Linked DNA regions of Homo sapiens: regions 2, 3, 4, 5, 6 and 7 are each linked to region 1. The links are contacts of gene promoters, found by promoter capture Hi-C in blood cells and fetal thymus (Javierre and others, 2016). All regions are on one chromosome and are shown on one strand. The core of a region is centred on a gene start or on the middle of the fragment in contact, and the rest is flanking DNA. Distances in the headings are between cores, read along the strand shown.

Region 1 (3,932 bases), core at 1,411-3,910:
AAAACAAAGAGATAAATAACGTGATGGATACGTCAACTATTCAGATTTGGCTATTACACATTGTATGCTTGCATCAAAATATCACATGTACCCCATAAATATCTACAACTATTATGCATCCATAAACATTAAAAAAAAATTACAAATAAACATCACCTCATACCCATTAGGATGGTCATTACCAAAAAGACAAGTGTGGTGAGGACATGGAAAAAACGGCACCCTTATATGCTGCTGGTGGGAATGAATATTGGCATAGCCATTATAAAAAACAGTATTAAGCTTCCTCAAAAGTTATAAACAGAACTATCCTAACTATCCTAAGATCTAGCAATCTTACTACTCGGTATATATCCAAAGGAAATGAAAGCAGTATCTCAAAGAGACATCTGCACTCTCATCTTCATTGCAGCATGTGTGTATACATGTAAATGTATACATGTATACACACACATACACAATATTTAAGGCTGAATAAAATGCCATAAGTGTGTCTATATGTATATGTGTACCTATGTATGAATATATGTATATATTATGTGCTTGCATATATACACACACAAAAAATGGCATTTTATTCAGCCTTAAAAAAGGATATTTGTAACACATGGATGAACCTGGAAAATATTATGCTAAGAGAAATAAGCCAGACAGAGTAATACCACATGATCTCACTTATATGTAGTATCTAAAAAGTCAAATTAGGCCGGGTTTAGTGGCTCACGCCTGTAATCCCAGCACTTTGGGAGGCTGAGGTAGGTGGATCATGAGGTCAAGAGATCGAGACCATTCTGGCCAACATGGAGAAACCCTGTCTCTACTAAAAATAAAAAAATTAGCCGGGCGTGGTGGCGGGCACCTGTAGTCCCAGCTACTCGGGAGGCTGAGGCAGGAGAATCGCTTGAACCTGGGAGGCGGAGGTTGCAGTGAGCCAAGATAGCGCCACTGCACTCCAGCCTGGAGACAGAGTGAGACTCCATCTCCAACACAAACAAAAAAAAAGTCAAATTCATAGAAACAGAGAGTAGGATGGTGGCTACCAGGGGTGGCGGAAATGAAGAGACGTTGGACAAAGGTAAAATTTAAATTATGTAGAATGAATAAGTTCCAGAGATCTAATGTACACCATGGTGACGATCATTAATAATACTGTACTGTATACTTGAAATCTTCTGAGAGTAAATCTTAAGTGTTTTCACCACACACACAAAAATTCTAACTGGCCAGGTGTGGTGGCTCACCCCTGGAATCCCAGCAATTTGGGAGGCCAAGGTGGGAAAATTACTTGAGTCCAGGAGTTCAAGACCAGCCTGTGCAACATAGTGAGAACTCCTTTCTCTAAAACAAAACAAAACAGAAAGTATGTGAAGAGATGAATATGATAATTATCTTGACTAATAATCAACATCAAGTTGTATATCTTAAATATATAAAATTTTTAAAATAGTAAAGAAAATATAATCATCATTCTCAGTAATCTATTTCCTCTAGTTTTCTTCATAATTTACCACTTTCTGAAATTACATTACACATTTGTTCATTTCTTCCTCCATTAGAACATATGCCCTACGAGAACAAAAATTTGGTCTGTTTTAGTAACCACTGTATTCTTACAACACCTAAGATATAGCCTGGCATATAGTAAACAGCCTAAAAAATATTTGTTGAGTGAATGAATAAAACAAACTTGGAAGAGATTTGAGAGATAATAACAAATATTGACCAAAGAAGAGGGAAAGCTAATATCTGAACTGATGAAAAAGATCTTTCCTAATTGTAGTGGTTTTTGTTTTAAACCTAAGAGAGCATACATTGCTCCCTAGGGTTCCTACCATACGTTTTGATTTCCTAAACACTATCTAAGTCAAATTAGATTTACCTTCAAACAATTACACATGGTGCAGCCGTGCAGCAGAAAAAGCAGTAGATGGGGAGTTAGGAGACATATGTTCTAGATCCAGCTTTGCAATTAACTTGCTTTGTGACTTTGGGAAAATCACTTCCCTCCTGTGGGCCTGTTTCCTCATATGTTGGAGTACCTCGAGGATGAGAATGGATTTTGTTTTTCCTGCTGTATCCTAGGCGCTTAGAGTAATGCTGGCCCTAAGAAATCTGTTGAATGACTGAATGAATGAACAAACAAAAGGAGGAGGCAGTACTTCATTACTGAACCTTGCTTGTGAAGAAACACAGCCGGCAAATGAGTTTAGTTTACCAAGCGCTTTCATGTGTTTGCAGACAACACACTCGGTGTCTCGCACACGAGGTTAATCCTGCTTGCTTAATAAATAAATGAATGAGTGAAGTGAAAAGGAAAGGGGGTGGTATTTCCGTTATAAAATGAGAAAACTAAGGCCGAGAGTGGAAGAGACTGGGTCCCACCACTCAATGAGTGCTTCTCAACTCGGGACCCTAACCGGACCTCCTTGTCCTTGCTCTGATCAGGCGCGGGACCACGATGGCGTAACACTCTATTTTGAATTCGTCCCTAATCCTCCTTAACTTTCCTTGAACATGACCCACCGTCCACCATAAAGCTTTACCTGAATCGAGACCAAAATTCTCTACATGGTGTCCCTGAGACTGTCCACATGAAGACTCTTCTGGTAATGCCCGACACAGATCGCGCCGCCATCTTCGATGAGATCCACGGGCCTGAGCGCAGCCTTCAGCCAGCAGTGACGCGCCCAGACCAGCCAATCGGATACAATCCCAGTGGCAAGAGCTTTCTTTTTCCTGTAGGCTCCCTCGCCCTTTGCACGCTGGGAAATGTAGTCCAGTAGCTGTTGCTGGCGGCGTCTGGACCGCGGCGCTCTTTCCGAGCATGACGGGAGTTGTAGTTGAGGGGGCCTCGGGAAGAATCTGGGTGACGCCTTCTGGTCCGGGGGCGGGCGGTCATAGCGTTACTTGGCTGCAAGGAGGAGGAACTGGCAGCGGGGAGGAGGCTCTAGCGAGGCCTGAAAGGCTGCGTAACCAGGCAGGAGTAGGGGTTGGGGTTCGGGGTTGGGGGACAGCCAGGGATCGCGTCTGATATGCTGTTGGGGTCGTGACCGTCTGGGGGCCGAGGCAGGCACTGGCCAGACCCAGCCAGGGATCCTCGTATTCGTCGAGCCTAATTTCCAGCAGCCGGGTAGGCCTCACCAGAGGCTCCTTTCCGTGAGGCCGCCCCCAATTCCTGCCCCTATTCTCTGCCTGGGAGATGGCTTCCCCGAGCCCCCCGCCGGAGTCGAAGGTAAGTAAGCACCCCCCCGGGGATCCCGGTTGTCTCGCCGCTACCCCAGCTAGGCCGCACCACTGCTTTCTCCCCCAGGCCCCCCACCAACCTCCTGACCGCCTCTTTAGGGCCAGCGCCTTGCAAGGAACTCCCCACTAGTGCATTGGGGTGCGGTTCGCGAACAAACTGCCCACTGGCTCCCTTTTTTTTTTTCTTTTTCTAGAGAGACTTGATAAATCGGCCTGAGAAAATAAGTAATGCTCCAGACTAGCTCTCTCATTTGTGAGTTCTCCAGGTGAAGCACCATTTTTGACCTTCCCTTGTGTCTTCTGTTCCTGGCACAGTGCCTGGACCCCAAGGTACACGCTTAGAGAACCTCAAGGAATTGAATTGAATAGAGTCACAAGCCAGTGCAAATGGAAAATTGAAGTAGGCAATGAGGTGAGGGAAGCTTGGAGAGGCCTTGGGGCAGTTTACTAAAATTAAACTCTCAGGGCATAATAAATCAGAAAAGCCTTATCCGTAGGTCCTTTCTAGTCTGAGATGTCTGTCAGTTACAGTTCGTTCCCAGAATTGGGCAACATATGGAACTTTCAGTTATCATGTTCCTCCTAGCCTACTTGGCCACAATAAGTGATTGCCTCTGTCACTTTTAGTGGTAGAATTGTCCTTGAGACAACAGGAACTGACTACAGAAATCATACTATTTCAGGGGTTG
Region 2 (3,881 bases), core at 101-2,600, 5.5 Mb before region 1:
TGAAGCATTTTATGAACACATACTACTAGTTTTTAGTATCTGCCATAGAATTGAGATCTATTTGCAAACAGCCATATTGTTTTCTTAAGACACTACTGTAGGCAGAATAATGATCCCCCAAAGATGTTTATCTCCTAATTTCCGGAATTCGTGAATATATTAGCTTACATGGCAAAAGGATTCTGCTGATGTGATCAAGGGCAGAGACCTGGAAATGGGAAGATGATCCTGGATTACTCAGGTGAGCCCTCAGAATCTTTTCCAGCTGCAATCAGCGGTAGACTTGAGGATGGAAGGTTCAGAGAGATGGCATATCACTGGCTTTGAAGATGGAGGAAGGGACCAAAGCCAAGGAATGTGGACAGAAGCTGGCAAAGGCAAGCTAAGGATTGTCCTGTGGAGTCACCAGAAAGGAGTGCAGCCCGGGTGACACCCAGGTAGCACTTCTGATCTACAGAACCGTGAGATAATAAATGCATTGTCTGTCAGATGATAAATTTGTGCTGTTTCAAGCTACAAAGTTTGTGGTTTTTGGTTATTGTGGCAATAGGGAACGGATACAGGCCCTGTCAGGTATTTCACTCAATCCATGAAATACCTTACAGTATACAAATTTTAACATGCGCGGGAGCCACTTACGGATCCGTCTATCTGTGCTGCCTGGGAGTGTCAAGAGGCCGTGTCCTTCATTCACCTCGCGCGTGGGCGGCGCTGCCCTGAAGATGCTCCCGGGCTCAGTGCAGACGGCTCAGCGTTCTCTCGCGTTCAACGAACCGCCAGAAACGTCAGATGGTACGGAGGAAAACACTTTACACTTTAACAGTATTTTTACGTTTATTTGCAGCAAATGTTGTTGGCTTTGTATTTAAAGTATTTATGACTCACTATAAAGTGTAGGATCCAAGAAAACGCGCTAGTTTCACTTGGCCCCCGTGGCTGTCCCGGGGAGCTCTCCAAGGAAGGACTGGTTCCTGAAGTTCCTGGGGTGCTGCACCACCACGGAAGAACCAAGCTCCACAGAGAAGCCAGAAGCCGCGACCGCGGGGACGCTCTCTGCCAGGCCTCCACCGCCTCAGCGGCCCTTTACAGCCACCGCATTCTCCATGCCCCCAGTTATTTCTAGCTTCGCACAGCGCCCGGCCCACCGAGCGACCTCAAACCTCGCGACACTCGCAACTCCCGAGGCCCTTCCTGCTACTGGCCTCAGAGGGAAGAGACATCGGGAAGATTGCTCCGCCCACAGAAAGGAAGATTTCGTTCTCGCGAGATCCCAATGACAATTCGGGAGCCCGTTCTCGCGGGATTTTCCAAGACCGGGTTGGAATTTGCGGGGGTTAGGAGACGGAAGTCAGAGCCTAGGAAGATTTGGGGGTCGCCTTGCCGGCCTCCTGTCCTCCTCCGGCGGCGGCGGAGCCCGAGAGAACTAGGTGAACACCGCTTTGCCAGCCTCACACAGCGTCCCCTGGCTCTGCCGCCGCTCCGGACGTCGCCCTCCCGTTCTGCTTGGGTCCCCTTAGTCGCTACCTTTGCTGGGATCCCCCTCCTCCATCCTGTGGCTTCGGGTTGCCGAAGAGCGATGCTCGGAGGGCGGCCGGAAGTGGCGTTGGCCGCCATTGGCCTGCCGGCCAGCCACCTTGCTGTCCTCCGCCGCCTTCCGGGTGTTACATGCAGCCGGGCTCGGCCCCTCCCCCTGGCCGGATGGATCCGTCGGCGCCACAGCCCCGCGCGGAAACCTCAGGCAAAGGTACCAGCTCCGCGCTCGCCCCTTACGCAGAGGCCTGTGTACTGCGTCGCGTTGGACCAGTTCTTGCCGGTGCCCTTCGGGTTGGGGTTTTGCCCTGTAGATCCTCTTCAGTGACAGCTGCAGATTGTGAACCCCTCCAGGCCTGGAACCAAATCTCCGATTCAGTGTTGAGAACCTGGACTCGGGAGTCAGCCCCTGGGATCTAGTGCTGCCTCTGACAGTTACTTGCTGAGCAACTTTGGGCAGGCTCCTCATCTGTAAAACTGGGTTCATTACTAGGTTCTTGCGATTATTAAATGACGTGGGGAATACGCAAAGTATTTATGTGACCCCGCGTGTGGCCCATATTAAGCACTCAGTAAATGTTATTTTCATTCTTTATTCTTGTATGCCCCAGTTGTTAGTGAATGGCAGAAGTTTGTTGTAAGTAGATAAATGAAGGTTGAGATATTTAGTTCAGTTGAGTTTTATTGCCTATTGAGTCAGGGCATTATATTCTGCCTTAAATAGGAGGTTTAAAGAAGGTGTGATTATCTACCACAAGTCACCTGGGATGCCTTCTGGCACCCAAATGAGTAGTTTTCATTAATAATTGTGCTGTATAACAAAAGCTACCAGGTATTGAGTGATTTTCCTGAGCCCAGCAATATGCTGATTGTTTACTTGCTTTCCTTTGAGGAAGATATCGATCTCATTAAATAGATGAATTCAGAGCTAAAGTTCAGAGAGGGCAAGTTACAAGCCTGAATTCTGAGGTCTAGGAATTGATGACGCTGTAATTCAGGGACCAAACATATAAATACCTATAGGAGACTGGCAGCTAAAAATAGATGAAGCTGCCGAGTGGATATTGTGACTGGGAGGCTCATTCCTTTTGATAAATCTAGTCACTCTTGGTATTTAGGGAAATTGGTGGAAGGAGCAGAAAGCTCCAGGGCCCCGAGGTGGGAACACCCTTGAGGAATGCTTGAGGAGGCCTTTGGAGTGAAAGAGGGAGAGAGAGACCCTATCACCAGAATGAGTTGAGTTGGTAATTAGTTTAAACCAAAACAAATGATTTCGACTCATTAAATTTTAGGACACTTAACCCATTTCCCTGTTAAATCCAACAGGAAATCTTAACAATTTAAGCAGTTGTTCTGTAGTTTGGATACTGAGAGATTCCATTTCTAACTCAACTGAATTTATTTCGTCCTAGAAATTATCCGAACTCAAACCCAAAATACTCCAATAAGTTGTGTGATTCCCTTAAGGCTTTTTTTTTTTTGCACATGCTGTACACTTATCTGAGATACAGTTCTTAGACCCCTTTCCCTTTTAAATTACATTTCTCAATACTCCCTTCTCATAGCACTCTTCTTCCAATGCAGTTTTTACAGTTATGTATATGTTGGTGTACTTTTTAGTTTTCTCGCAAGATATCAAGGATTTGTGAGATTGATAATTTGTAATAGGCCAGGCGCATGGCTCACACCTGTAATCCCAGTACTTTGGGGAAGCTTAGGCGGGAGGATAGTTTGAGGCCAGCCTGGACAACATAAGCGAGACCCTGTCTCTACTAAAAATAAAAAATTTAGCCAGGCATGGTGGTGCACACCTGTAGTCCCAGCTACTCAGGAGGCTGAGGCGGGAGGATGGCTGAGCTCAGGAGTTGGAGTTTACAGTGAGCTATAATTGTGCCATGACACTCCAGACTGGGCGACAGAGACACTCTTGTCTAAAAAAAAAAAGAAAAAAAAAAGAATGTGTAATAAATTCGCATGTTCACTGAATGTCTGCTGTGTGACTCTGTGTTGGTCCTGGGGATAAAATTTATAACAGTACAAACTTTTCTTGGAAAGGAAATTACTCTCTACTGGAAGGAAAAGACAAAAAACCAGTGGACATGATAATTAAATGTTATGATAAGTGCTACAGAGGCAATAAAATGATGAGATAGAGAATAATGGGTACCCTACGCTAAATAGGTGGACTGGGAGCAGAGAGACTGGTTAGGCATAATTTAGGGAAAGTTGATGGTGGCATGCTTTAAGACAGAGGTCTGCAAACTACTGCCTGTGGGCTAAAACTGGTCTGACACTTTTTTTTGTAAATAAAGTTTTATTGGAACACAACTGTGCCCATTTGTTTATGTATT
Region 3 (3,865 bases), core at 663-3,162, 7.1 Mb before region 1:
TGTGCTATGACTTGGAAATTCTCTCCATCTGCGGGAAGTTCAAAGGCTCACCTCCATGATTTCCACTGCTCTTCATTGTCTGATGTCAAATGTCTTCAAATGTTTCATATATTTTGTCCTTTTAAATGTTGATTAAGGTGAAGGGCTAAATCTGGTTCCTGTTACTTCATTTTGAGAAGAAGCAAATAGGAAGTAACTTAAAAATACCACTTTTTATCAAATTCTTAGAAAAAGAGTATAACTCATTTTGCAAAGACTTTGGTATGTTTTTGAGCGTATTATTCTGTTACATCTAATAAACAATCTTTGCATTAGTAAGATAACTTTAATTGCTATAGTGTTAAATGTCCTCAAGTTTAGTTTTTCCTTATCTTCTTGTAATCAATTGGAATTAAAAAAAAAACTTCAGAATCTTCTTCTTTATAACAGGAAAAAAAACCCCAGTATTTTTGGCATTTTTAGAAGTACATTCATACACACTGTCATTTAAAACATGGGGGTGGGAGGTGGAGCAAGATGGTGGAATGGAAGGCTCCACTGATCATTCCCCCTTGTAAGAAAAACAAGTTAACAACTATTTACACACAAAAGCACCTTCACAAGAACCAAAAATCAGGTAAGCACTCGCAGTACCTGGTTTTTACTTCATATGACTGAAAGAGGCACTGAAAAGGTAGGAAAGACAGTCTTGAATCACCAATGCCCCTGACCCATCCCCCAGCAGTGGCTCTGTGGTGCGGAGAGAGAATCTATGTTCTTGGGAGACGGCAAGCACAGCAATGATGAGACATTGCATTGAACTCAGTGCTGCCCTGTTATACCAGAAAGCAAAACTGGATCAAACACAGCTGATTCTCACGCATGGAGGGAGTATTTACACCAGCCTTAGCCCGAGGAGAATCACCTATCCCAGCAGTTGGAATTTGAGTTACTGCCAATCTCACCACCTCTGGCTAGAGGGCCCTAAATAAACTCGAAAGGCAGCCTGGGCCACAAGGACGGCTCACGCCTGTAATCCCAGCACTTTGGGAGCCTGAAGTGGGAAAATTGCTTGAGGCCAGGAGTTCCAGACCAGCCTGGTCAACATAGCGAGACCCAGATTCTTTTTTTTTTTTTTCCCCCTTGAGAAGGAATCTCACTCTGTTGTCCAGGCTGGAGTACAGTGGTGCGATCTTGGCTCACTGCAACCTCCACCTCCCGAGTTCAAAGTGATTCTCCTGCCTCACCCTCCTGAGTAGCCGGGACTACAGGCGCCCATCACGACGCCCAGGTAATTTTTGTATTTTTAGTAGAGACGGGATTTTACCACATTGGCCAGGCTGCTCTCGAACTCCTGACCTCTGATCCGCCCGCCTCAGCCTCCCAAAGTGCTGGGATTACAGGCGTGAGCCACCGCGCCCGGCCGCGAGACCCAGATTCTAAAAAACAAAACAAAAAATTAGCCCGGTGTGGTGCTATGCACCTGTATTCCCAGCTACTCAGAAAGTTGAGGTGAGAGGATTGCTTGGCCAGGGGTTTGAGGCTGCAGTGAGCTATGATCACACCATTGTACTGCAGCCTGGCCGACAGAGCAAGACCCCTTCTCAAAAAATAAGTAAGTAGATAAAGTTCAGGGGTGTACAATCACAGGTGTGAATTTGCAGGATGGAGGACATGTAACATCTTTTTAAAAAAAAAAAAAATTAGAAGGACCGTATAAAAAGTTAAAGAAGACTTACTGCTCACCTGACCACCCTTCTCATAGACCCGAAAGTTAGATTTTACTTTCTGATTTTTCACAATTTCTCCTGGATGCTGCGGTCCCGCCCCTCGCAGCATTCTGGATGTTGTAGTCCCTCGCTCCAGGGCATCCACGGTAGGGTAGTTGCGCGCCCCGTGGCAGTCTGGGTAGTGTAGTTCCGTGCCCAGGGGCAGTCCGGCTCGCGTACTTCCGCGTTCCGGCATCGTCGCCTGGTGCGTGGTGAGTGTCCTTTCACAGTTCTGGTGAGCTAGCCCGGAGGTGGTCCCCGCTTTCGCGGGCCTTCCACTGGAAGGAAGGTCGGGAAAGCTGGCATGGGCAGTCCATGTCGTGGCCACATGTTCCTTGGTGTTTTGAGTTTCGGCTGTGGGGTCTGGGCGTGCGTGGTCCACCCCGGAGAGAGGTCTTGGCGGAGGTCCTCTGGTGGGGAGGGGGCGTTGGCGTTGTCGCGTGCTTCTGGCGGGACTTTGGGCCCAGTATGTTGACCTGGAGGGGCCAGTGCAGGCCTGGGACCGACTTCCCGAGCTACTTCGCAGGTGCGTCCCCGGTACTTCGGGGGCCGCTGAGTGGGCTCTGCCTGGGGTACCCAGACAGCATCCTGCCACTAGTATCCCGCCATCCCCTCCCCACCATCGCGCCTCGGAGGTCTCTGGGCCAGCAAATGTGCCTTTGGAGGACATGATATCCTCGGTTGGAGCAAACTTCCCCATTAGTGGGAGGCACGCGGCTTGGGCATCAGTCGGGTTGTTTATTTGTTTATTTATTAAATTTTATTTATTTATTTATTTATTTTTGAAACAGAGTCTCTCTCTGTCGCCCAGGCTGGAGTGCAGTGGCGCAATCTCGGTTCACTGCAATCTCCGCGCCCCACCCCAGCCGCCGGGTTCAAGCCATGCTCCCGCGTCAGCCTCCCGAGCAGCTGGGATTACAGGCACCCGCCACCACGCCCGGCTAATTTTTTGGTTTTTGTTTTGTTTTGTTTTTTTGAGACAGAGTTTCGCTCTTGTCGCCCAGGCTGGAGTGCAGTGGCGTGATTCCCCTGCCTCAGGCTCCCGAGTAGCTGGGACTACAGGCGCACGCCACCACGCCCGGCTAATATTTTGTGTTTTAGTAGAGACGGGGTTTCACCATGTTGGCAAGGCTGGTCTCGAACTCCTGACCTCAAGTAATCCCCCCGCCTCGGCCTCCCAAAGTACTGGGATTACAGGCGTGAGCCACCGTGCCCAACCTCAGTCCAGTTATTAGGGCTCTTGTGGATGGCTGGTGCACTGTGGTGGTGATGGTGCAGCTTGGCCACTAGGACCCGGGTTTGTGGGGGAGGATTGTTTGTGGGTAGACATCCAGACTTGGTCTTGATAGTGGGGGGGGGGACGGCTAGGGCCGTGCGACTCGGGTCAGTAGCCTTGGGGCCTGGGGACCCAAGTTGGTGAGTTGAGAAGGGCTTGCCTGGAGTTAGACATCCCTGGGTTGTGGGTTGCATGGGGGCGTGCTTGTATCCAGATTGTCGGCTTCTGCAGCTGTGTGGCTCCCTCGGACTTGGGGACCCTTCCGGGAGCATGGGTTGCAACAAGCAGAATGGTGCCCATAGGGCCAAGGAACATTTTTCTCAAGCCTCAGGGGGCTGTTGAGTGACTCCTTGAATTCCTGGAGGTGGGGGAAGAAGTTGGGTGGAAGGCATCCAAACCTACATTTTTTTTTTTTTTTTTTTTTTTTTTGAGATGAAGTCTCACTCTGTCGCCCAGGCTGGAGTGCAGTGGAGTGATCTCAGCTCACTGCAACCACGGCCTCCCGGGTTCAAGCAATTCTCTGCCTCAGGCTCCTGAGTAGCTGGTACCACAGGCGCCCGCCACCACGCCCGGCTAATTTTTTTTGTATTTTTAGTAGAGACGGGGTTTGTTTTTTGTTTGTTTGTTTGTTTGTTTGTTTTGAGAGGGAGTCTTGCTCTGTCGCCAGGCTGGAGTGCAGTGGGGTGGCGCGGCGCGATCTCGGCTCACTGCAAACTCCGCCTCCCGGGTTCAAGGTATTCTCCTGCCTCAGCCTCCCGAGTAGCTGGGACTACAGGCACGCGCTACCACACCTGGCTAATTTTTGTGTTTTTACCATGTTGGCTAGGATGGTCTCGATCTC
Region 4 (3,525 bases), core at 231-2,730, 7.2 Mb before region 1:
GCCTACTTCATCATTATTAGATATCATTTAATCCTACCCTACTGCTGTGCTAGGTACTTGGCATAGACAGGAACAAAACAGTTTCTGCCCTTGAAGAGTTCCACATCCCCTGCAGCATAACCACACTCTTCCCCTGAACTGTACTCGATCTAGCTCTGGGGCCTGCTCTCTCCTTTCTCAATATATCTTCTAACCTCAAGAAGTCCTCCCCAAATCCTACCCATGGCTTAAGCTCAAGTTTCCCCCCCTCTAGTTTCTTGTTCACTTTAGCTCACAAAATAAAGTCCCCATTAAAAACAAAACGAAACAAACTCCTTTGGCACTTATTGCATACACTAATATGAGTGCTAAAAGGGGAGCTGATACCACCACCTAAGATCATAAATGTAAACGTACAGCATGTCAAGTACTATTTCCCATAGTTCTATTACAGACAAGGACCCACTTTTTTAAAAGTGTTGCACAAAGTCACAATGAATTACAAAAAGCAGAGCTACAGCCCAGGTCTTGCGGTTCCCAGCCATAAAATCTTAAAACTGGCAGAGACCTCAAACGACACCTTAACTAGTGATTTCAGAGTCCTAGCATGTGAAAGTTGTAATGGGGATGGAGGAACTGGGCTTTGGATTAATTTTAAAACAACAAAATCAAGGATTGCTTTGAAAAACATTTGAAGACAAAAATCTTCAAAACATGGGTTGGAAAAGATAACAAAAAAAAGCTCAGGGAGGCTGAGGTGGGAGGATCTCTAGAGTCCGGATGTCGAGGCTACAGTGAGCCGTGACCCACGCCACTGCACTCCAGCCCTGGAGAAAGAGCGAGAGACCGTGTCTCGAAAAAACAAACAACAAAAAAACCCTCAGACCCCAAAACGTCAAGGAATAAAAGTAAAAGGTTGGGCGGACACAACTCCTCCATTTGACAGATGAGCAAACTGAGGCACAGAACTCCAGGAGGCCTGGCCAAGGCCTCCTGGAGGGAACAGGGTCAGTTGACGGAAAAGAGCCAGAGGCTGCACGCTGGACAGCGTTCGGACCTTCCGGGTCGCGCACGTGTAAATTGCCCCCAGGAGCCTGAGGGAGCAAAGCAGCCGCCCCGCCCCGCGGGCAGCGCGTTCAGCGGCCACGTGACACAGCCAGCCCATCACGCGCAAAGGGCAGGGCCTGGAGGACACCACCCCCGCCACTCTCTCAGCCCTCCACTAGGAAAGAAGGAGATGGTATTGGTGGGCGGGCCAGACCCGCCTCCCCCACGGTGGCCACCCCGCGCGAGGCGGGCCCAGCCGCCGCCCTCCAGTGAGGGGACGGACGAGCTCAGCTAGGCCAAGGCGAAAGAGCGACGCGCACTTCAATCAGACGGCTTCACCAATGGGCTTGCGCGCTTTCCGCGGCGCCCGCCCCTGCATCGGCCTCCCGGCGACCGCGCTGCTTTCCCTCAGGCCGCCGCGGCGGCGCCCGCCCGCGCCTCCATCCGGGTCCTGGCGCGGTGCTCTCCCGGCAGCGACGGGCGCGAGGGCCGGGGCATTCCCACGGCCGCGACGGCCCTCTCCGCGAGCGCGAGGTGGGTATGGCGGACGCGGCAGCGAGCGCGGGTCCGTCGCCATTTTATTTCGCGGAGACTCGCGGCAGCGGGTGGGCAGAATGGGAGAGCCGTGCGCCGGCCCGCGCCTGTCCGGCTAACGCGGGCTGGGACTGGTGGGGCGGCCTGCCCCCTCCAGCGGGCGGGTGGCCCCGGGGGGCCGGCGGGCTGCTAGCGGAAGTCGCGGGCGCTCGGGGCACGGGGGAGGGGTGCCGCGTGGCCGCCGCGGGGCCGGCTCCAACCCCCTCCGCTTCCCGCCCAGCTCCTCACCGACAGGGCGGGGGAGGGGGGGTCATTCTTCACATTCCTTACCCCGCCCTTCCCCCCGCTTCAATCAAACTTGGGGCGGGCGGAAGGCCCGCCTTCCGGCCGGCGCCTGTTGGCCGGCGCCGCCTCTGACTGTGGCGTGACTGGTTGTAGGCGCCGCCAGGTGCCTCTGACGTCACTTCCGCTATCAAGTTTGTGGGCCGGGGAGACCTTGGCCTTGGGGGTTGGGATGAAGGAGGGAAGGTAGGAAGTGCGAGGGGCGGGGGGACAGGGCGGGAAGGCGCGGGCGGGGAGGGCGGGAGAGTCGTGGCTGGCTGCATGCCCCTGCTCCCCGCGGCCAAGTGCAGCCTCCCTTCCTGAAGCAGCTGCTGCGGCTGGAGGTCCGCTGCGGCAGCCGTCCTTGGCGAGGGGGAGGGGAACGCGGGAGCGGGAGGAAATCGTATCCCGGGGGACGGGGCTTGGAGATTTGCGACTCGGTGTCACCGGAAACAGCGCTGGCCTTTTGAGTCGACGCTGCAAACTCTTGGAACCGAGTGCCTCTCAGAAGGCTTGCTAATAAACTTCCCGGGCGGGCTCTAGTGTGAGGAATGTGGTAACCTGTATGTCCTTGGCCAGTAATGCCCTTCGGTCTTTCAACTTTTTACAGTAGATTCTGTGTCAGAGGTAATGGTATGTATTCTTCAACTTACCGGTTTTTAAAAAATTGACTAACGAGAGGGCGGGCAGACAGGAAAAAGGCAGGGAAGACAGTGAATGTTAAAATTTTGAGGTAAATCAGGAGACTGGTTGAGTTTTGCTTTTTAACTTCATTGATAATACTGCTTTCTTGGCATACAGTTCCTAAAGTTAAAGCATCATGTGGCATTCCTTTGCATTTATTTCTGTTGGCCTGAAGTATAAGAACATTGAATGTCAAATTCCAAATTTATGTGTAGTTTAGGAAATAATTGTTTATATCCAGAATTCTTTTGGTGTTTGGCGGGGTCTGGTTTTATTTACTGTATATTCGGGAAGTATGTGTAGTTAGGGAAGTAAAAACTTGGAAGTTACTTTGGGTTTTGTGAGAATGTTTGATTCATTATACATATTTGTTAAAAGTTTACTTTGAAACTTCAACTTTGAGAATAGACAAATTTCTTGACGTCCTGTAAATTCAGTGGTATTATATAGCATTTTAAAATTTATCACTTAGGTGCAATTACAGTGTGAGGGGAAAAGTTAACTTTTTTGAATAGTTACATTGCAGTGACAGCAAGAGAGTATTTTTATGTGTAGACAGGCTGTGGGTTCCCCTCACTTAAATTGAAGCTCTGTTGAACTTGAGACACTTAAGAATCTTGCAAGTGTGAAAAGTGGAGTGAAACAAAACCATTTCTAAAACGAAAATGTGTAACTGCGTTCAGTTTTACACAGTGAAGAAATAAGTATTAAACAAGTTAGTCTCAAACGTTTATATCTTAAGGTCATTTTATTCCTGTTATCATTAACTAGACATATCTTGGTTTAGAGAGCAGCACACAAGACATTGTGTACTTTTAATAGCTAAGATAGTATAATAACTACTCATATGGGAATTACCGAGTGTTAAGAGCGCCAAACTAGTGTTTCAAACTGTAGGTCCTGAGTTATAGGGTCATGAAGTCACTTTAGTGGGTGGTGATCCGAATTTTTTAAAAAGTA
Region 5 (3,936 bases), core at 338-2,837, 5.9 Mb after region 1:
CGATGGCTCACATATAATCCCAGCACTTTGGGACTCCGAAGCAGGAGGATTACTTGAGCCCAGGAGTTCAAGACCAGCCCTGGCAACATAGGGAGAACATATCTGTACAAAAAAATAAAATATCAGCTGGGAAGCAGTGGTGTGTGTCTGTGGTCCCAGCTACTCAAGAGGCTGAGGTGGAAGGATCTCTTGAGCTCAGGAGGTTGACGCTGCAGTGAGCCGTGTTTGTGCTACAGCGCTCCAGCGTGGATGACAGTCAGACGCTTTAAAAAAATAAGAATAATCTTTAAAACAAAAAACAGGGGAATAGTGGCACACCCTGGGACACAGACTCTGGAGTCATTCTGTCTGAGGTCACATTGTGGATTTGCCATTTACTACTGGCTGGGTTATTCCAGGTGCATTACTCAACATCTCTGTACTTCAGTTTTCTATCTGTAAACGGACTTTCTACTAATAGCTAACTGCTTACAGACTGTTTATCATGATTTTACATACAATATTCAACTTCCCCCTCCAATAATCAATGAGTGACATTATTATTCTCATTCTACTGCTGAGGATCCAGAAGCACATTCACCCATTCCACAAATATTTACCGTGCACCTGCAATGTGCCAGGCATGTTCATGGGTGAACACAGCAAAATCTTTGCCTCTGTGCAGCTTCAGTCTGGGGTTCACAGGAAAAGGAGAAAGATGATAAACAAGAGATACGTACATTACAGGGTAATTATAAAGGGATACCCGCTATACAAGAAAACAGAGCAGGATAACAGAGATAGGAAGTTGGGATTTTAAGTAAGGCAGCCAGAACAGACCTCACCAAGAAGGCAATATCTGAGCAAGGATGTTAAGGGAGCCGGGGGCAACCTAGAATCCACCAGTGGGGAGAGTAAGGCGACTCGGAGAAAGGCGAGGGGCTAATGCATCCGTTCTAATAACTCTGACTTTAACTCGGGGCTAGATGGGGAAACACTGGACAGTTCTACCCCGAGGTGTGACAGAACTTGACCTTCATTTTAAATCGGTCCATCTGTTTAGGCTAGTGAGAAAAAACAATATTTGAACTCGGGCAGTCCAGCTCAGGAGTCTGTGCTGTCGGGATTAAAGAATCAGTCGACACCCCCAGGGCTGAGCCCCGCAGCAAGCGCCCCGCGGGTGCTGGCCCCCAGACTGTGGTTACCGCCATCCTTTCACTTAAACTCCGCCCCGATTACTCCCCCGCTCCAGGGCTCCGCATCCACTCTGCCGGGTCTCCACGAAGCGCTTCCCGGGCTACACATTGCGTAACTTCGGCAGCCGGGCGGAGCCTGCACAGAGGCGGAGCCGCGGCAGCCGGAGAGAACGCCCCAGCAATAGTCGCTAGGAGGAAGCCCCAGGAGCCCTTGCCGCCCACGGAACGCGCCTGCGTAATCCGGGTCCAGGCCGCCGACATTCCAGGACCGCCTTCCGCCCCGCCCCCAATTCTGGGGCGGAGTCCTCGGCCGCGCCGGCGCAAAGCGTCGCCGCACCCCACGCCTGCGCGCTTCGCCCGCCCGGCCCCATCCCCCCAGGTTTTTCGCGTGGGGGAGGGGGCACGTCTCGGCGAGTCACGATGATGGCGGCCACCATCCTGTGGTGAGCTAGCGGATTCCCTGCTTGTCTCGCCGACCCCCTCGCGCCTTCTGCAGACTCCGTGGCTGGCGCTCGGCGCGTGAGGAAGCACGGCGGCCCGAGTTCGCGGGGAAGGCCGCAGTCGCGGAGGCAGCGGCGCGGTCCGGGGCACGGGCTGGGGGAGAGGCCGCTCCGCTGGGCGAATGTGACAAGCCCCCACCCCCACCGCCTTCCTCCCCAGAGCGCGAGGAGCGCGGGCGACCCCGGGGCCCCGCCAGGCCACAGACCCCGCCCAGCGGCCAGCACCCGGCGCAGGCCCGGCAGCCGAGCTGCGCGGCGGCACCATGCAGGTCACCCTGAAGACCCTCCAGCAGCAGACCTTCAAGATAGACATTGACCCCGAGGAGACGGTATGCGCGCGGGCCGGGGGCAGGGGCAGCCGCGTGCGGGCCGCGGGGAGCGCCAGGAGCTCGTGGGGCCGGGCGGCGCGCTCCAGCGGGGGAAGCCCCGGAGGGCGCGATGAGGGCCCTGGGTCCTGGTGCCGGCCCTGGCGGCGTACAGCGGAGCCGATCCTCCTGTCTTGGCCGTGGGCTTTGTGGCAGGAGAATGGGGAAGCAGTGGCCGGACGCCGAAGGCCTGGTGGCAGATGGCGTGGAGCGCACGCCCGCGGGCCTGGGCCTAGGAGCTCGTGCTAGCGGGGCCGGAGGGGGATGGGAAGGTCCAGGCCGTCTCAGCCGTAGAGCCTGGCTTTCTGGTATGGGTGCACAGGTGGGGGAGGGAGACGTAGGCGTCGCCACTACCCCTGTGTGGACCTGGTTAGCCGCTTAGTTCCCAGAGTTGGTAACCCGAGAAGATGAGCCTTAAGAAAAAAAAAAGTATCAGGTTCCGTTTGCCGCCGAGAGGTGAGTGGTGGTGAAAATGAATTTGCCCCTTTCCCCTCAGAATTGTTTACCCTTTTATTTGCAAATGAATCGTTCTGCTGCCTTCCTCCCGCCACCAAACCCACACCCTTGCGTAGATTGCACTTTGAGGCCTCTTTGGTGATGGTTTTAGCTGTTAGAGCTCTTCACAGCCATCCAGGCTCAAACTAAACTTCAGATTTAACGGGTTTTCTGTGTTAGAAATCTTGGAATTGTAGGAGTTGGAACGCTGCAGCCACCCTCCCCCGATGCCCCAAACAGTAGCAGTTCAAGGGGGAAAAAAGAAAAAAAAAACAAAAAACAACAACTTTGAATCCTTTCTGCAGTTAAAGCCTTAAACATTTCAGAAGTCCACATTATACATTTTTCTGTATTTGTGACTGCATAAAGAGACACTGTTGAGGTCAGTACAACTTTATGCCAAGAATCTAAAAACGCTGTGAGTGTAAATTTACTGCTTATGTTCGGAAATACACCGCCAAGATTGTCATAATACTAAGTTTAAACCAGCAGCTTTCTGCCCAACTCTATTTTTAAAAGTAGTTGATTCTATTTTGGGTGGAGATCAGGGGCTTTGGTGTTAAGTAGACCTGAGTTCCATTTGTGGTTTTGTAACTTATTTGCTATGACCTTGGGCAAATTACGGTTAGTTTCATTCTCTGTATAATAGGGATAATACCTGCCTTGCAGAGATGTGAAGATTAGATGGTATGTATTTACTTGGTGGTCAGTAAATGGAATCGATTATTTAAACAATGGATTCCTTTGAGTGGAGATACAGTGTTACGTTTTACTTATCTCATTTAATCTTAAGTTTTGTACATCTTTAATTTTTTAAGAAACAGCCTTTTTGGGATTTTGGTACAAAATTATTTGATTTCAGAATATTTATATGTGGGTGTATGCTGTGTGATTAACTTCTTAAAAGTACAGGAGATCTCAGTTATACATGAGAAACTTTTCAGTGTCCTCAGAAGTAATTGACAATACCCTGTGGACTGACAGTACTAATAGAATCTAATTTCTCTTGAATATTTCTTTACTGCTTAATGTGCATTAATAAGTTGAAGGGTGAAAGTTAAAATGGAGTTTGTTTGATGATTTCAGACAAACTACGTAAAATGCCTATTTGACTTTGGTTCTTTGTGGTAACAAATGTTGGTGCCCCAGTAACTTAATCGGCTTATAATACTCAGTTAATTTCAGAATTATTGAAAGCTAAAGAAATATTGTGGCTTTTTGGTAAATATGTGTGGGTGTATTGAAGTTATGCAGTGACTCTGTCAACAGCTCCACTGAAGTATTTACGTTCTGTAAGATTTGTTTAGCGTTTTAGGCACTTTACGCATACTGTTAACTGAGAGTCAATGCTGTACCTGTGTTTGTGTGAATTCTTAACTATTTTTGCTGTTTTCCAGTTTA
Region 6 (3,680 bases), core at 168-2,667, 6.1 Mb before region 1:
GGTACAGCACATAACATTGAAACATCAATTCAAGTTTAATGTATAAAGTCGCAATGAACATGTTTTCCATCTAAGCTTAGGTAATGAATGATCTCAACACATGGTATGAATTCTACTGTTTGTAACAACCTTTCAGGGGAGTAAGGAGAAAACGATCTGTCTGAGGGCATATCACTGACAGTGAGTGACAGCCACAAAGAGCTGAAGTTGGGTGGCCCAAAAGTGCTCTGCTCATTTGATAAATGCTAAGTCAAATCACATCACAGTTTAGATGCATTAAATGGGGCACAAGTTAGAATAAAATCAGATGCCCGGGAGTTTTCCAAGTTTCAGATTAGAACAAAAGTCCAGGCACATACAGGACTTTGCTAGAAAACTCCTTGGTCTCTTCCCTTAAGATTCTGGTACCCAATTTCCCATGTTATAAAACTCCAAGTCTTTTCCCCCATTCGGTGCGCTGGACACATAAGATCATAGAGGGTTCGTAGTTGTAAACGCACCCACCTAAAAAATTAAAAAGAGCAAACCAACAAACAGCACCTGAAAAATCTCTCACGGGCTTTGAAGATATGGCCTGGCGTCCACAAAAAGAATGGAGGGAAGACACTGGCCTCTGCGAACCCGCCTCCCTCCGGGAATAAAAGGCGGAGGGCGGGAGGGGTAACAGCCGCGCCCCGGGCTCCTCTAATTGGACCTCGCCCCTCCTGGCGCCCCGGCGAATGGGGTTTGGGGGCAGGGGTGTGAGGGACGGGGAGGACGAGGCCAGCTGTAGAGGGCGACCGGCTCAAAGGGGCGAGCTTTTCACGGCTCCCACGAGTCCGAGGCAGAGAAATTCACCTTTGCTCCTCTCCTTTGAAGAAGACATAGCTGCCTGCGCTCAATGAACAAAAAGAACCAAAACGCCAACACCCGGCTCCCGCCTCTCCGGGGGCTCCCTTCCGCGCGACCCCAGCGCCGGCTCCCGCCCCCGCTTTCCCCGCCCTGGCCCCGCCCCGCGGGCTGGCACCGCCCGCCACCTTCCGCCTCCCGCCTCCCGCCTCCCGCCTCAGCCTTAGCCACAGCCCTGCGCCGGCGGGAACCCCTCTCGCCCACCGCAAGGCGCGCCTGGCCCACCCGCTCTCGCGAGCCTTCCCTCTTGCCCCTCGCCTCCTCCTCCCGCTCTCGCCGCTGACGTGTCGGCCAGACCCCCGAGGGAAGCCTCCGCCCTCGCTGCGTTCTGCGGCCTGCCGCTTACCGGGTGGTCCTCGCGGGAGCTGCTTCAGCAGTTTGGGCAGTGGCGGAAAGGAAGCCACCGCCCGGGATCTGTGGCTTGAAAATTTGGCTTTGCCTCGTATTGGCTTTTTGAGTTTTTTTGGAATTTTCCCGCGGTCGCCCGGCAGTGGAGCCGCGCGCGCGCACACGTGTCAGCAGTGCATTCTGGGGCCTGGCTAGCGGCCCCGCGCGCTCCCGCGGCGTCGCGGGAAAATTCCGACGAATCTCGGGTCCGTGGGGCGGGGCGGGCGCGGCCAGGGCTCTGGCGGAAGTGGGCCCGGCTGGGGCGGGTTCTAGGCGAGCGGAGTCGGTACTGCTCCAGTGTTCCCGGTTTCGCGCGGAAGCCCCGGCGGGAGCAGGGTTGCAGCAGCGCCCGCGGAGAAGGGGCGCTGGCTTCTTCCATATTCTGTTCAAAATGTAGGGGAGGTAAAATGGAAATTAGTTCTTTTGAAGAAAAGTTGAGGCTTTGTCAACGGGGTAAAACCTCTAAAATAAGATTTTCTAACTGCGTTCTAAACAATAGCAACAAAAAAGGCATCTTCAGTTAATGATTTCCCCTACCGTACATTAGTTCCATACAGTGTTTGGTCGGGGTTCAAATCAGTTCAACGCTGTACATAAACCACCCAAACAAATATTAATAAAATTTTCTCCAAACTCCCATTTATGACAATGGCATTAGCTTGTCTTGGTGAATTTTTTTTTCTTCTAGGATCTGACGACTTAAGCTTTAAAATGTCTTAAATCAATGCCTCACAACCATAAATCATAATCATAAAACTACAGCTTAGGTCGGGCGCTGTGTCTCAGGCCTGTAATCCCAGCACTTTGGAAGGCCAAGGCGGGCGGATCACGAGGTCAGAAGATCGAGACCATTCTGGCCAACATGGTGAAACGCCGTCTCTACTAAAAATACAAAACGTTTAACCGGGCGCGGTGGCGGGCGCCTGTAATCTCAGCTACTCTGGAGGCTGAGGCAGAATAGCTTGAACCAGGGAGTCAGAGGTTGCAGTGAGCCGAGATCGCGCCACTGCACTCCAGCCTGGCGACAGAGGGAGACTCCGTCTCAAAAAAAAAAAAAAAAAAGCTACAACTTCACATATACGTTCAAAAACACACTACAGGCCGGGCGCGGTGGCTCACACCTCTAATCCCAGCACTTTGGGAAGCTGAGGCGGGTGGATCACCTGAGGTCAAGAGTTTGAGACCAGCCTGGCCAACATGGCAAAAACCCGTCTCTACTAAAAATACAAAAATTAGTGTGTACTCCCGGCTACTTAGGAGGCTGAGGCAGGAGAATTGCTTGAACCCAGGAGGCGAAGGTTGCAGTAAGCCAAGATCGCACTACTGCACTCCAGCCTGGGCAACAGAGCGAGACTCTGTCTCAACAAAAAACACCACAAAGCTGTGTGTGCTTGTAATAAAAATAGCTCTCAAGTATTTAAACATGTCCAACTATTCCTATGGTGAAGAAATACCCGTTTTACCAATGAATACTTTCAATTCAGAGACTAATTTGCAGAGGTTATACATTTATAAGTGATACAATAAGTATATAGCATAGCAATAGCAACAATCTGTTTAAGAATTAAAGGTAGTTAAAAAAAGGAACCGATCCAGAGGTTGAGACAAAACTGGCAGAATCTGCAACTACATTAAGGAATTCGGTGTTTACATCCATTCTCGAAACTATTCCATGCCAGTTAAGGAAGTCGGTGCTTTTTGATTGTTTTTTAATTTTAGATTCGGGGGTACATGTGCTTGCTTGTTACATAGGTATATTGTGTAATGGTGGGGATTGGGCTTCTGGTGTACCTGTCCCCCAAACATTGAACATTGTACCCAATAGCTAATTTTTCAGCCCTCACCCCCTTCCCACCCTCTCCCTTTTTGGAGTCCCCAGTGTCTTGTTATTCCCATTCTTATGTACATGTATACCTATTGTTTAGCTCCCGCTTATGAGAACATGCAATATTTGATTTTCTGTTTCTGAGTTTGTTCACTTAGGATAATGTCCTCCAGCTCCATCCATGTTGCTGCAAAGGACATGATTTCGTTCTGTTTTACAGCAGAGAGGTCGATGTGTTTTTGATGTGTGCATAGTGTGACATGGATAAATCAAAAGCAAGTCCTGGGTAGGGAAATACATGCCTGAGGGGCACTCATCGTGGCACCTTGACCATGAGAAAGTCACCTCTGTGGTAACAAATCGAGAGTGAGTTGACGTTTAAGTTCTGCATTTATCAGCAAAGAAAGCAATTAAAGTATGTATTTCTTGAGAGAAATTATCTATTTTGGTACCCACATCCTTTTACATATTCGCTGAAAAATCATTTTTAGTGTTTGTTAATGATTGATGTCTTGCCATATCCCAGTTTTCTGTCTTTTTAGTTCAGTGGTTAATAAAGAATTGCTAGGCTCATCCAACT
Region 7 (3,918 bases), core at 1,183-3,682, 5.9 Mb after region 1:
TTCACCATGTTGGCCAGGATGATCGTGATCTCTTAACCTTGTGATCTGCCCGCCTTGGCCTCCCAAAGTGCTGGGATTACAGGCATGAGCCACTGCGCCTGGCCTCTTAATTTCTTTTTTTTTTAATTTTTATTTGTCCTTTTTTTCTGTTTGAGTTGCATGTTTAGCCTGTTAATTTTTCTTCTTTATTGAATAAACATTTTTAGTGTTTAGTCTACAATTACTTCTTTAGCCAAATCATATAGGTATCTTGTGTTGAGCTCCCATTGTTATGTTCTTAATATTCTGTGTTTGTTTTGTTTTGTTTTTGAGACAGAATCTTGCTCTTGTCATCCAGGCTGGAGTGCAATGGTATGATCTTGGCTCACTGCAACCTCTGCCTCCTGGGATTCAAGCAGTTCTCCTGCCTCAGCCTCCGAAGTAGCTGGGATTACAGGTGCCAGCCACCATGCCCGGCTAATTTTTGTATTTTTAGTAGAGATGGGGTTTCACCATGTTGGCCAGGCTGGTCTCGAATCCAACCTTAGGTGATCCGTCTGCCTTGGCCTCCCAAAGTATGGGATTACAGGCGTGAACCACTGTGCCCAGCCTTAATATTTTTTAATCAATTTTGATTTCTTTGAAGCAAAAGTTATTTAGTAGTAAATTACTAAAGGGCCTTTTTTTTTTTTTTGGTCCAGCTTTTCTTAATTTATGGGGCTTTTTTTTCCTTTGGTCCTCCCTCATTTTTGATATAAAGCTAGAGAGTCCCGTTACTTATTTAAGCGTTTTGAAATATGAAATATTTAAGTCTGTCTTATACTTCATTGTAACCTGTCAAGAATGAGATATTCCTGCATGTTTATTTTCTTTTATTTGTTGCTTCATATGTGTCTTTTTTTCTTCACATATGTCTATGCTCTGTTCATTTATTCATCCAGCACAGGATAATGGAGCACCCACTCCATGCCAAGCCACTATGTATTGTTCTGAGAACTGGGTTTATGCATAGAGATACACTTGGTCTGTAATTTATTTGTAGTTTTCCTAAATAATCACACTTGCAAATATTGTATCCTTTTGTCCCTCTACAAACAAAGTTTGAGAAGAAATTTACCATACACCACTGAGTGCTCCACCCATGCTCTGCCATCAGTTGGTTGACTTGGCAAGTCTCTTAGCATGTAGGATAGCAGTCTTCAAATGACTTGGTTTCAAGACTTGTTTACATTTAAATAAGTTATTGAGGGCTCCAAAATAACTTTTGTCGATATGCTTACGTTTTATTTTATTTATTTATTTTTTAAGGCAGATTCTCACTCTGTCACCCAGGCTGGAGTGCAGTGGTATGATCTTGGCCCACTGCAACCTCCACTTTTCAAATGATTCTTGTACCTCGTCCTCCCAAGTAGCTGGGATTACAGGCATTTACCGCCATGCTTGGCTAATTTTTTTTTTTTTTTTTTTTTTTTTTTTGCATTTTTAGTAGAGACAGGGTTTTACCATGTTAGCCAGGCTGACCTCGAACTCCTGGCCTCAGGTGATCCTCCCACTGCAGCCTCCCAAAGTGCTGGGATTACAGGCATCAGCCACTGCGCCTGACCCAATGTACTTACATTTATTAATGTTTACCACATTAGAAATTAAAACAAACTTTATTAATGTTCATTTAAAAATAAATATAAACTTATTATAATAAATATTATACTTACTTTTTTTGCAAAAAATAACTATCTGCCAAAACAACAGTAACACCAAAGCACTGAAAAGACTGACACTGTTTTACTTTTTTTTTTGCAAATCTGATGTTTGGCTTTAAAAAAATTTTACTTGTGTTTTACCTTTGAAATGGGGAACAGTGGAAAATAGTGGATTGAGATTTTTGTGATGGATTTCTACTTTGGGGAACATCAGAATAGCAGTGATGCTACTGACCCATTTCAGGAAGATCAGTGCAGCAAGGAAGGTTTATATGGTATTTGCAAAATACTCTGCTTGGAGTCATAAGGGGTGGTAACCTCTTTATTTCCGTCTCCTCATCTATAAAATTGAGTGGGTGACATTTCCTTTTGTCCCAGAGTTTTGAGGATTGTGTGAAATTGTATGTTAACATCTGAAGCTAAATAAGCTTTTTTTATCTTTGAAGTACACACCATCACTTTTTAATTGTACAAAAGAAACCTTTATTTGTATCCCTTTCTGTCTAAAACTCAAGAGAACTGTCAACTTAGATAATTTTCAAGAAGTATTGAATTTTTCTCCTTGGTTTTTGTGCCTTTAAAGTAATGAAAGTAGTTCTATAAAGGCAAATGGGAAAGCCATCTCTGCCTTTTTTACTCCTGTACCTCCCTACTTAACAAGTTAAGAAGTTCATTAGACTCATTTTTGTAAATACTGTATAATGAGCCTAATTGTCACACAATTTTAGGAAATGAAGAGACTATAAAGGTCATGGATTCCAGCTCCTCTTACAGATGAATGAAGCTGATGCTGAGAGAAGCTAAGCTGCTTGTTTAAGAGCATTGAAGTTGTCTGGAGGTTTTCAGCCTGGGCTGAACTTTGGAAACACCTGTAAAACTTTTTAAAAATACTGATGTCAAGGTCCCACTCTCAGAGATTATGTTTTAATTGGTGTTTGTAAAGTCCCCCTGGTGATTGTAATGAAACATAACACTTAAAATGAATCATTTGCCTTTTAACATTCACAATTTAACCTTTAACATTGAAGTATTCTTATTGTTGATGAGACTGTTTTATTTCTTAGATTTTTTAGGTGATCAAGCTTTACTTTCTTGCTCCGTGGGAAATAAACCCATGAACAGTATATAAACCAAAACTTTGATGTTGAAAACTTTATTTTAAATTATCAGTTCAACTAGTAAATTTTTAAAAATCTGTGTGTATCAGATGGTGTTAAAGTTTATGGCTATCATAACTAGTAATATGAGTTAATGTTGAATCTTTTTTGATATAAATTGGAAAAACATAATATTTGAGGTTTTGGAAACATTAATAATTATGTATATAATTTTTGTCTTCCATTATTTATTCAGATTCTGGATTGTCATTTTTTATTTAGACTTTTTCCAAAACAAATCTTTATTTTTCCTATAGGTGAAAGCACTGAAAGAGAAGATTGAATCTGAAAAGGGGAAAGATGCCTTTCCAGTAGCAGGTCAAAAATTAATTTATGCAGGTATGAATTAAATATTAAAATTAACATGCCATGTCTTGATATTCTTTTAGTTTTAGAAATGTTATCTTATATATTGTAGTATATTCAAATTGTCAGAAAAATGATTGTACAAATAAAAGCAGTGAAAGAGCAGTCATTTGAATCTAATATTAATATTCAATCTTCTCTTTATTCACATTTGCCCTGTGTATTTTTCCATCAAATGGTATTAGTTTTGTTTTATCTTTTGTAAGCATCGTGTAACTGGCTTTTGTTTTTTTAATCAAACGGAGCTTTTTTTTTTAAATTGAATTGAAACCATTTATACTGATTGTGTTATTATTAGTATGCTTGGAATCATTCCTGTAAAATTATTTTAACCAAAACTAACTGAAGAGTACAGAAAAAACACATCACACAGACACCTACAGGAAGAAAAAAAATTAATATTCAGATTATGTAAAGAATTCTTAGAAATCAGTAAGGAAAGGATGACCAATAAAGCAACAAAGGATAAGAGTAGGAATTATACATTTGACTAGCCTCACTAATAACCAGGAAAATGTATATTAAAAATACATTTGATATCCAAATTTTTAGAGAAAATGCTTTCATTGTAGATGTTAGTAAGGTGGGTGTTTGATCACCCATGGATTCTTCTCTTTTTCTGAATAGTGTTTCCTAAAGTGAGACAGCCTGGAGGAAATGCTAACCTGGTGATTCAGTCCCATTATTTTTATAGGTCAGAATTCAGAAGCCTAAAG

The links. Contacts are between HindIII fragments. The CHiCAGO score rates a contact against its expected background, and 5 or more counts as called.
Region 2: a contact is called between the fragment with the promoter of ERCC6L2 here and the fragment with the promoter of MRPL50 in region 1, in 1 of 17 cell types (total B cells). The highest score is 8.5, in total B cells.
Region 3: the fragment with the promoter of ZNF169 here is called in contact with the fragment with the promoter of MRPL50 in region 1 in 2 of 17 cell types (monocytes and fetal thymus); the score reaches 9.7 in monocytes.
Region 4: a contact is called between a fragment that was not itself captured here and the fragment with the promoter of MRPL50 in region 1, in 1 of 17 cell types (naive B cells). The highest score is 8.0, in naive B cells.
Region 5: the fragment with the promoter of RAD23B here is called in contact with the fragment with the promoter of MRPL50 in region 1 in 5 of 17 cell types (activated CD4 T cells, total CD4 T cells, non-activated CD4 T cells and 2 more); the score reaches 12.7 in activated CD4 T cells.
Region 6: the fragment with the promoter of FANCC here is called in contact with the fragment with the promoter of MRPL50 in region 1 in 2 of 17 cell types (total B cells and naive B cells); the score reaches 12.7 in total B cells.
Region 7: a fragment that was not itself captured here is called in contact with the fragment with the promoter of MRPL50 in region 1 in 4 of 17 cell types (naive CD8 T cells, total CD4 T cells, activated CD4 T cells and 1 more); the score reaches 7.3 in naive CD8 T cells.

The regions. Positions count from the first base shown.
Region 1 is chr9:101,395,958-101,399,889 of GRCh38, forward strand. MRPL50 (mitochondrial ribosomal protein L50) reads right to left here and starts at 2,661. Exons shown (of 2, transcript NM_019051.3): 1 at 2,544-2,661. The coding sequence starts at 2,635. It overlaps ZNF189 (zinc finger protein 189), which reads left to right and starts at 2,894. Exons shown (of 3, transcript NM_003452.4): 1 at 2,894-3,232; 2 at 3,927-3,932. The coding sequence starts at 3,200. RefSeq lists enhancers at 1,774-2,303, 2,304-2,832, 2,365-2,894. The HindIII fragment of the contact is 1,128 bases long and covers 2,536-3,663 here.
Region 2 is chr9:95,874,341-95,878,221 of GRCh38, forward strand. It overlaps ERCC6L2 (ERCC excision repair 6 like 2), which reads left to right and starts at 1,351. Exons shown (of 19, transcript NM_020207.7): 1 at 1,351-1,744. The coding sequence starts at 1,699. ERCC6L2-AS1 (ERCC6L2 antisense RNA 1) reads right to left here and starts at 1,637. Exons shown (of 3, transcript NR_023390.1): 1 at 1,525-1,637. RefSeq lists enhancers at 522-651, 882-931, 972-1,071, 1,206-2,080, 1,212-1,441 and 1 more. The HindIII fragment of the contact is 4,005 bases long and covers 1-3,241 here.
Region 3 is chr9:94,257,386-94,261,250 of GRCh38, forward strand. ZNF169 (zinc finger protein 169) reads left to right here and starts at 1,913. Exons shown (of 5, transcript NM_194320.4): 1 at 1,913-1,960. It overlaps LINC02603 (long intergenic non-protein coding RNA 2603), which reads right to left and starts at 1,926. Exons shown (of 3, transcript NR_160773.1): 1 at 1,726-1,926. RefSeq lists enhancers at 1,432-2,077, 1,916-2,235, 2,078-2,724, 2,266-2,395, 2,725-3,370. The HindIII fragment of the contact is 11,618 bases long and covers 1-3,865 here.
Region 4 is chr9:94,164,822-94,168,346 of GRCh38, forward strand. It overlaps MIRLET7A1HG (miRlet-7a-1/let-7f-1/let-7d cluster host gene), which reads left to right and starts at 1,437. Exons shown (of 5, transcript NR_170278.1): 1 at 1,437-1,560. RefSeq lists an enhancer at 802-1,366 and silencers at 1,062-1,861, 2,092-2,161. The HindIII fragment of the contact is 4,683 bases long and covers 1-3,525 here.
Region 5 is chr9:107,281,692-107,285,627 of GRCh38, forward strand. It overlaps RAD23B (RAD23 nucleotide excision repair protein B), which reads left to right and starts at 1,588. Exons shown (of 10, transcript NM_002874.5): 1 at 1,588-2,004. The coding sequence starts at 1,939. RefSeq lists an enhancer at 917-1,076 and a silencer at 1,567-2,126. The HindIII fragment of the contact is 9,258 bases long and covers 1-3,936 here.
Region 6 is chr9:95,316,292-95,319,971 of GRCh38, forward strand. FANCC (FA complementation group C) reads right to left here and starts at 1,418. Exons shown (of 15, transcript NM_000136.3): 1 at 1,235-1,418. RefSeq lists a silencer at 770-1,089. The HindIII fragment of the contact is 1,904 bases long and covers 74-1,977 here.
Region 7 is chr9:107,297,048-107,300,965 of GRCh38, forward strand. RAD23B (RAD23 nucleotide excision repair protein B) reads left to right here. Exons shown (of 10, transcript NM_002874.5): 2 at 3,094-3,175. Among named protein-coding and RNA genes, the nearest start is that of RAD23B, 16 kb to the left of the region's middle. The HindIII fragment of the contact is 654 bases long and covers 2,106-2,759 here.